2 separate regions of the Homo sapiens genome follow, and region 2 is linked to region 1. Evidence: promoter capture Hi-C in 16 types of primary human blood cells and fetal thymus (Javierre and others, 2016). All regions are on one chromosome and are shown on one strand. The core of a region is centred on a gene start or on the middle of the fragment in contact, and the rest is flanking DNA. Distances in the headings are between cores, read along the strand shown.

Evidence for each region. Contacts are between HindIII fragments. The CHiCAGO score rates a contact against its expected background, and 5 or more counts as called.
Region 2: a contact is called between a fragment that was not itself captured here and the fragment with the promoter of TXNDC11 in region 1, in 1 of 17 cell types (fetal thymus). The highest score is 5.1, in fetal thymus.

Annotation. Positions count from the first base shown.
Region 1 is chr16:11,741,454-11,744,428 of GRCh38, forward strand. It overlaps TXNDC11 (thioredoxin domain containing 11), which reads right to left and starts at 1,404. Exons shown (of 12, transcript NM_015914.7): 1 at 1,024-1,404. The coding sequence starts at 1,277. It overlaps TXNDC11-AS1 (TXNDC11 antisense RNA 1), which reads left to right and starts at 1,561. Exons shown (of 1, transcript NR_186412.1): 1 at 1,561-2,975. RefSeq lists silencers at 852-1,521, 1,384-1,906. The HindIII fragment of the contact is 4,507 bases long and covers 666-2,975 here.
Region 2 is chr16:11,097,981-11,100,992 of GRCh38, forward strand. The region is part of intron 19 of CLEC16A (C-type lectin domain containing 16A); the gene reads left to right. Among named protein-coding and RNA genes, the nearest start is that of CLEC16A, 150 kb to the left of the region's middle. RefSeq lists an enhancer at 2,570-2,679. The HindIII fragment of the contact is 3,688 bases long and covers 1-3,012 here.

The DNA.
Region 1 (2,975 bases), core at 154-2,653:
CCAGGGAAACACCAAGCTTGCCCAGCCTCAGAAACTCTGCATTTGCTGTTCGCTCTACCGTGGACACGCTCCCCCGGGATCTTCCCAGCGCTGGTCCCTTCTCCTTTTTGTATAAGCTTCAAATGTCACTTCCTTAGGAAGTCTTTCCCCACCGCCATCGTTTCTATGCCCTGCATAGCACTGAAGCTTTAAAAAATTATATTTACTTGTTCACTGTCCCATCCACTCAAGGGAGCAAAAAGTTCACCCGGACGAGCGTCCGGCACATAGTAGGTGCAGATAAATAATCGTTAGATCAGGCCGGGTGCGGGGCTCTCGCCTGTAATCCCAGCACTTTGGGAGGCCGAGACGGGTGGATCACGTGAGGTCAGGAGTTCGAGACCAGCCTGGCCAACGTGGTGAAACTCTGTCTCTACTAAAAATACAAAAATTAGCCAGGCGTGGTGGCGCGCGCCTGTAATCCGAGCTACTCAGGAGCTGAGGCAGAAGAACCCCTTGAACCCGGGAGGCGGAGGTTTCAGTGAGCCGAGATCGCGCCACTGCACTCCTGCCTGGGACACAATGCGTGACTCCGTCTCAAAATAAAAATAATCGTTAGATCAATGAGTGCGGGAATTCTAAAAGGGGTCTGGAACTCTCGCAAGGTTGTGGATCACTACACCTGAAGCTTAAGGGGAATGAAATCGGTGAGAAATGAGGGTCCTACAGCCCGGGCCGAAGTGACAGGTCCACCCCTAGTGACTCCAACAGGTGAGGAGCACCCCCGACCCGCCTCCCTCGGCACTAAAGCGGGACGATAGGGCGCAGGGCTCCACCCGGAAGCCTCGCCATAATGTCCGCGGGCGGGCCGGGGCGAGGAGAAGGTGGGAAGCCGTGGCCGCAGGTTCCGGGAGGGGTCAGCCGTCCTGGGCAAGGTCAGGCCCGACTTCCCCGGCTGAGGCCGCTGCGACCCGGCCCTGCAGGCTCCAGGCGGCAGAGCAAGGGGAGCGCCCTAGCGGGGCCCCAGGGTCCGGGCCGCCTCACCTGCAGGTGAACTTGAGGGCGAGGAGCAGCGCGCAGCCGAGCGCCACGGCCCCGCAGAGCAGCTCCGGCCGCTGGCGCGCCATGAGGAAGGCGCCACGCAGCCCGCGACGGAGCCGGCCCGCCGAGGACGCTGTGGCCAGGGTCGGGCTCGAGCTGAGGCAGTCTGAGCCCGCGGGGCCGCCGCCGCCCCCTCCCTCGTCCTCGGCGTCCTCGCTGCTGCTGCTGCCGCCGCCGCGGCCTCCGCATTCCGACATTACATGCTCCCAGTCGCCGGCTTTATACCGCCGCCGCCGCCTCGGGCCCGAAGGCCCGGCCCGGCCCGTTGCTCCCCAATCCCGCAGCTCGCCGCACCCGCTAACCCGGACGCTCCACGTCAGCCGCGCCGCCGCCGCGGGGTCCGCCCCACCTCACACCCCAGAGCACGCAGCTCCGCCCACCGCTCACGGAGTCCGGGCGGGCACCGACACCGCCCAAATCCCCGCCCCCAACGGGCCACGCCCTGCACCCTACGTAAATGCACGGAAGCCTTCCCCGCCCGCAGCCCAGTCTTGGCCCCACCGGTCACGACCCCGCTCACGGAGTCTGCGCAGGCGCCGTCGCGGGGCGTGGAGAAGCTGCTCCCTTGGGATAAGGCCCGCGGGGAATACTTGGAACCTTGACACCGCTGTAGTCTGCTCTCGCCGCGCTGGGTTTTAGGAGCCGTAACGACAATAATCGTGTCCACCATTCTCACTACAGGCCCCGAAGCACGTAGGTGCCGTTTTTTATCCCAACTTAACTGAAGAAAAAAAAAACACGGCCGGGCGCGGTGGCTCAAGCCTGTAATCCCAGCACGTTGGGAGGCCAAGGCGGGCAGATTACATGAGACCAGGCGTTCAAGACCAGCCTGGCCAACATGGTGAAACCTCGTCTCTACTAAAAATACAAATATATTAGCCGGGCGTGGTGGCGGGCGCCTGTAATCCTAGCTGCTTGGGAGGCTGAGGCAGAGAATTGCTTGAACCCTGGAGGCGGAGGTTGCAGTGAGTGGAGATGGCGCCACTGCACTCCCGTCTGGGGGAGAGAGAGAGAGAGACTCTTGTCTCAAAAAAAAAAAAAGGACTTGTCCTCCAATGTCAATAACAACAAACTAGACAAATAAAACTTCGAGGGCATTAAGGCAATATGGTGTTATGCCACAAACAGAAGGCACAGCTAACGGCCAGTAGCTGAGACGCCACCTCTGCCACAGGTCAGCTATGTGACCCACGTGCAAATCTCATCACTTCCTGTCTGGTTCTGCTTCTGTGGATGTAGAATGGGGCAATCAATGGCTGTCTTGCTCAATTGGCCAGACATTTAATGTGTCAACCACCCAGGCCCAACATGTTGTGAGTTCATGTACACCGACCATTTTGCTATTTCTTTTCTATATGTCACTTTTTTTTTTTTTTTGGTTGTTTTTTGATACAGGGTCTTGTGTCACCCAGGCTGGAGTGCAATGGCGCAATCATAGCACACTGAAGCCTTGACAACCCCAGCTCAAGCGATCCACCCCCGTCAGCCTCCCAAGTAGTAGGCAACACAGATGTGTGCGACTACGCCCAGCTAATTTTTTTTTTTTGTGGAGACAAGGTCTCTCCATGTTGCCTAGGCTGGTCTTGAACTCCTGGGCTCAAGCGATCTTCCCCCTTCGACCTCCCAAAGCGTTAGGATTATGTAAAAGCATGAGTCACTGCGCCCACCTGTCACATCTTTTTGTTTCTTCTATACTGCCTTATTTTGTAGAAAGTAGCTATTTTCTCGTATAACATTAATTCCTTTATTTTTAACTTGTCCCTCATCTCTGTTTTGTGTTATTATTACCCTTATTATCTATGTTACAAACCCAACCATACAGTGTTAATCTTGTTTTAAAAAGCTGAGAAAAAATATATAGTTACAGAGTTTTTTTAACCTTCTAATTTGCCACT
Region 2 (3,012 bases), core at 85-2,584, 640 kb before region 1:
AGTGGTATGTAGACTTGGCTGTGTGGTAGAATCACTTGGAGAGCTTTAAGGCGCCCGGTGCCCAGGTCACACCCCACACCAATTAAATCAGACTGTCTGGGGGCAGGAGCCAGCATCTGTTTTCAGTGATCCCAGGTGATCCTACATGCAGTAGAGTTTGGGAGCCACCGCTCTAGGGATTAACCGAGGCCTCTGCAGCACGCACTAGCATGGTGGCAAACAATGAGTTCTCAGTGCCCACCCCTCAACAGAAAAGCCAGAAGATGGAGACACAGAAGTCAGATCCTGCTCAGCCCCATCTCCAAGGAACGGCCATGTGAGCCTGTGTACTGAGAATGCGTGCCTGTGCACGCCGAGGATGCAGAAAGGGACAGGGGACCAAGTGGCAGGTAGCCTTTTCTTCTAAACTGCTACCAGGTATTTGCATCCCAGCCTGTTTAGTGTTGCTGCTGAGTCCCCTCCACCTTCAAGAACTGTCAGCCTCTTCAGTAAGGAGACGTGGGGTCCCAGCTGTGGCTTCCTAAGAGCTGAGCGTGAGGGCGTTAGTGTGGCCATCCATAATGGTATTTGGGATCTGACAAGTCTCCAAACCACTTGTCCATAGACCCTCCAGGGCCCTGCACCCTGAGAACCAGCCTGGTGGGGCTGGAGTCCTAAAATCTGCACTTTGTCCCAGTACCGGGTGCCCCAGGCTGCCAATGGGCCTCCCTTCGAGGAACCCTGGATCTCTCCCAAGACGCTGTGTGTGAGCTTCAGCCTTTCCAGTTGCCTGCACATTCTCGCCCAAGTGCTGTGTGTGGGAGTAACTTTTCAACTCCTTCGTTCAAGAGCCTTTCCCACCCCTCCACTGGGCCCAGTCCTATGTGGGGGCCAGGACAGAGAGATGCCCAGGCAGTGAGCAGGTCAGACCCTGCTCATCCTCAGAGGCCAGGGTGGAGGGAGGCAGGTGACCCATGAGGAATCCCTTCCAGCAGTGAGACCTGTGGCACCCCATGCCCATTGATCATACCTACTTGCTCTGTGACACGGAGAGACAGCTGTGTGGGAATGGGCTTTCTGTGTGCTCTGCAGAGAGCGTGGCGGCTAAGGTGAGGCATGGGAGTCATAACCCCCAGGCTGAGTGAGCCAAGAGTGCATGTGGCCAGAGCGCCCCATTCCTTCCAGGTCAGGGAGCTCCAAGGCCCTGGGCCAGGCTGCTTCATGCCACCCGGGTTTGCCAGGACAGGTCATTCTCATGCACGGCTCATCGGCAGACGTGGAGCAGAGCTGTTTCCCACGGTCCCACACAGTGGACAGGGTCTCGTTTTCTTCCCTCTAACCCTTCGCTGTCCAACACGGTAGCCACTTGTGGCTGTCTAAATCTACATTAATGAAAATTAAGGTTAAATAAAATTAAACATTTCTGTTCCACTGTCACACCACATTTCAAGTGCTCAGTCGTGGATAGCAAGACAACGGAAAAAGGATATTTAATTGTATTTAATTTTAATTGAAATGCAAATAGCCACATGTGTGGTGGCTCTGTACTAGACAGCATGGTCGTAGGACATTTCCATCAATGCAGAAAGTCCTTTTGGGCAGCAGCGCTGTCTAGCAGGTGGGGTAAAATCAGGAAACAAGAAAGGCAAGGGTTTGGAGTCTTTCAGGATCCCAGCTCCGTCACTTTCTAGTGTGTGGCTGCATGCTGTCAACTCTGCTGGGGCCCAGGCGTCCTCGTCTGGAACTGAAAGCCCAGATTTGTGTGGCTACCTCCTCACCCAGGTGCGAGGACGGGGCAAAGTGAGGATGGTAACAGTAACAGAGGTGTGGACTGGGCACTTGCTCTCTGCTTTCATTCTTCCCTGCCTGGGACCCACGTGCTGTTTTCACCCCTGTTTACAGATGGGAAAGTAGAGGCCCAGAGCCTGTGCTGTGTTTAAGTGTCCAGCATGTGGCAGGAAGCAGAGACAGTGGGGATTGTGATTCTTACCTATCTAGCCAGAGTTGCACCTGGGGTTTGGAGGCACGGCTGACTGGGTACACAGGCTCTACACCCCTGCCAACTGTCTGACCACGGTGGCTCTGCCTATGACACACTTATTTACTATTGGACAGCCTGACTAGCTCTTTTCTTAACTTTTGCCTAAAAAAAATTCAATCCATGGCTTCCTAGCTCTGAACTTGCCTCTGTGCATCAAGCTGAAGAAGGTGCAGGAGTTTCAGAGCCAGTCATTCCTTAACAGGGAGGTAAGACTGCGGGGGACTCAGCAATTTGGAGCCTGGGCTTTCTCACCACCTATCATGCCCTCCTACGGTCCTGCCAAAATCTCCTGTCTCTCTTTCACCTTTCCCTTTCTCCGCCTGCTGGTGGATTTCCTCTGCCAAGAAATTAGCAAGAGCAGCTGAAGGCGGTGATGCACACGGCCCGGCCAAAGTGAAGTCACCCCTGCTCCTGCTGTGAAAGCTGCTGATCTCTTTCTTAGCACAGGCAGCCAAATGTGGTTTACCCTTCTGGTCCAGATTTCACTAACTTAGTGTGGCCCAGAGAATCTTTTTACAAGATTGGGGTTTGGTTTCAAGCACATGGAGGGACTTGGACCTGACTCACTTGGGCATTTCCTGCTTGGGGTCCTGGGAATTGACCTCCCGGAAGATAACATTAGCAGCACAACCTCAAGTCAGTTACTGACCCTCTCAGGGTCTCAGCTTTCTCATGTGTAATGTGCAGATAATGGTACTGCCTGGGCTGGGTGGTTTTGAGTGCTTAGCTCAGTGTCAGATGCTTATTAAATATTACACTGTAACTGTTAGTATCTGAAATTAGCATGGGTATATGTTTGCAAGTGGCTGGAACTTTTGAAGAGTTTATTTGCAGGGTTTGCAGATGAACTTTTAAACAAAGTCTGTAACGGGTTGAATATACCTTTCCATTGTGCTGGTACAGTTTATACTCACAGATTTCTTTCAGTTACTGCTTTATGGTCTGTCTGTTGAGACTGTGGCTGCGTGAGGGCCAGACCTTCATTTTCAGCC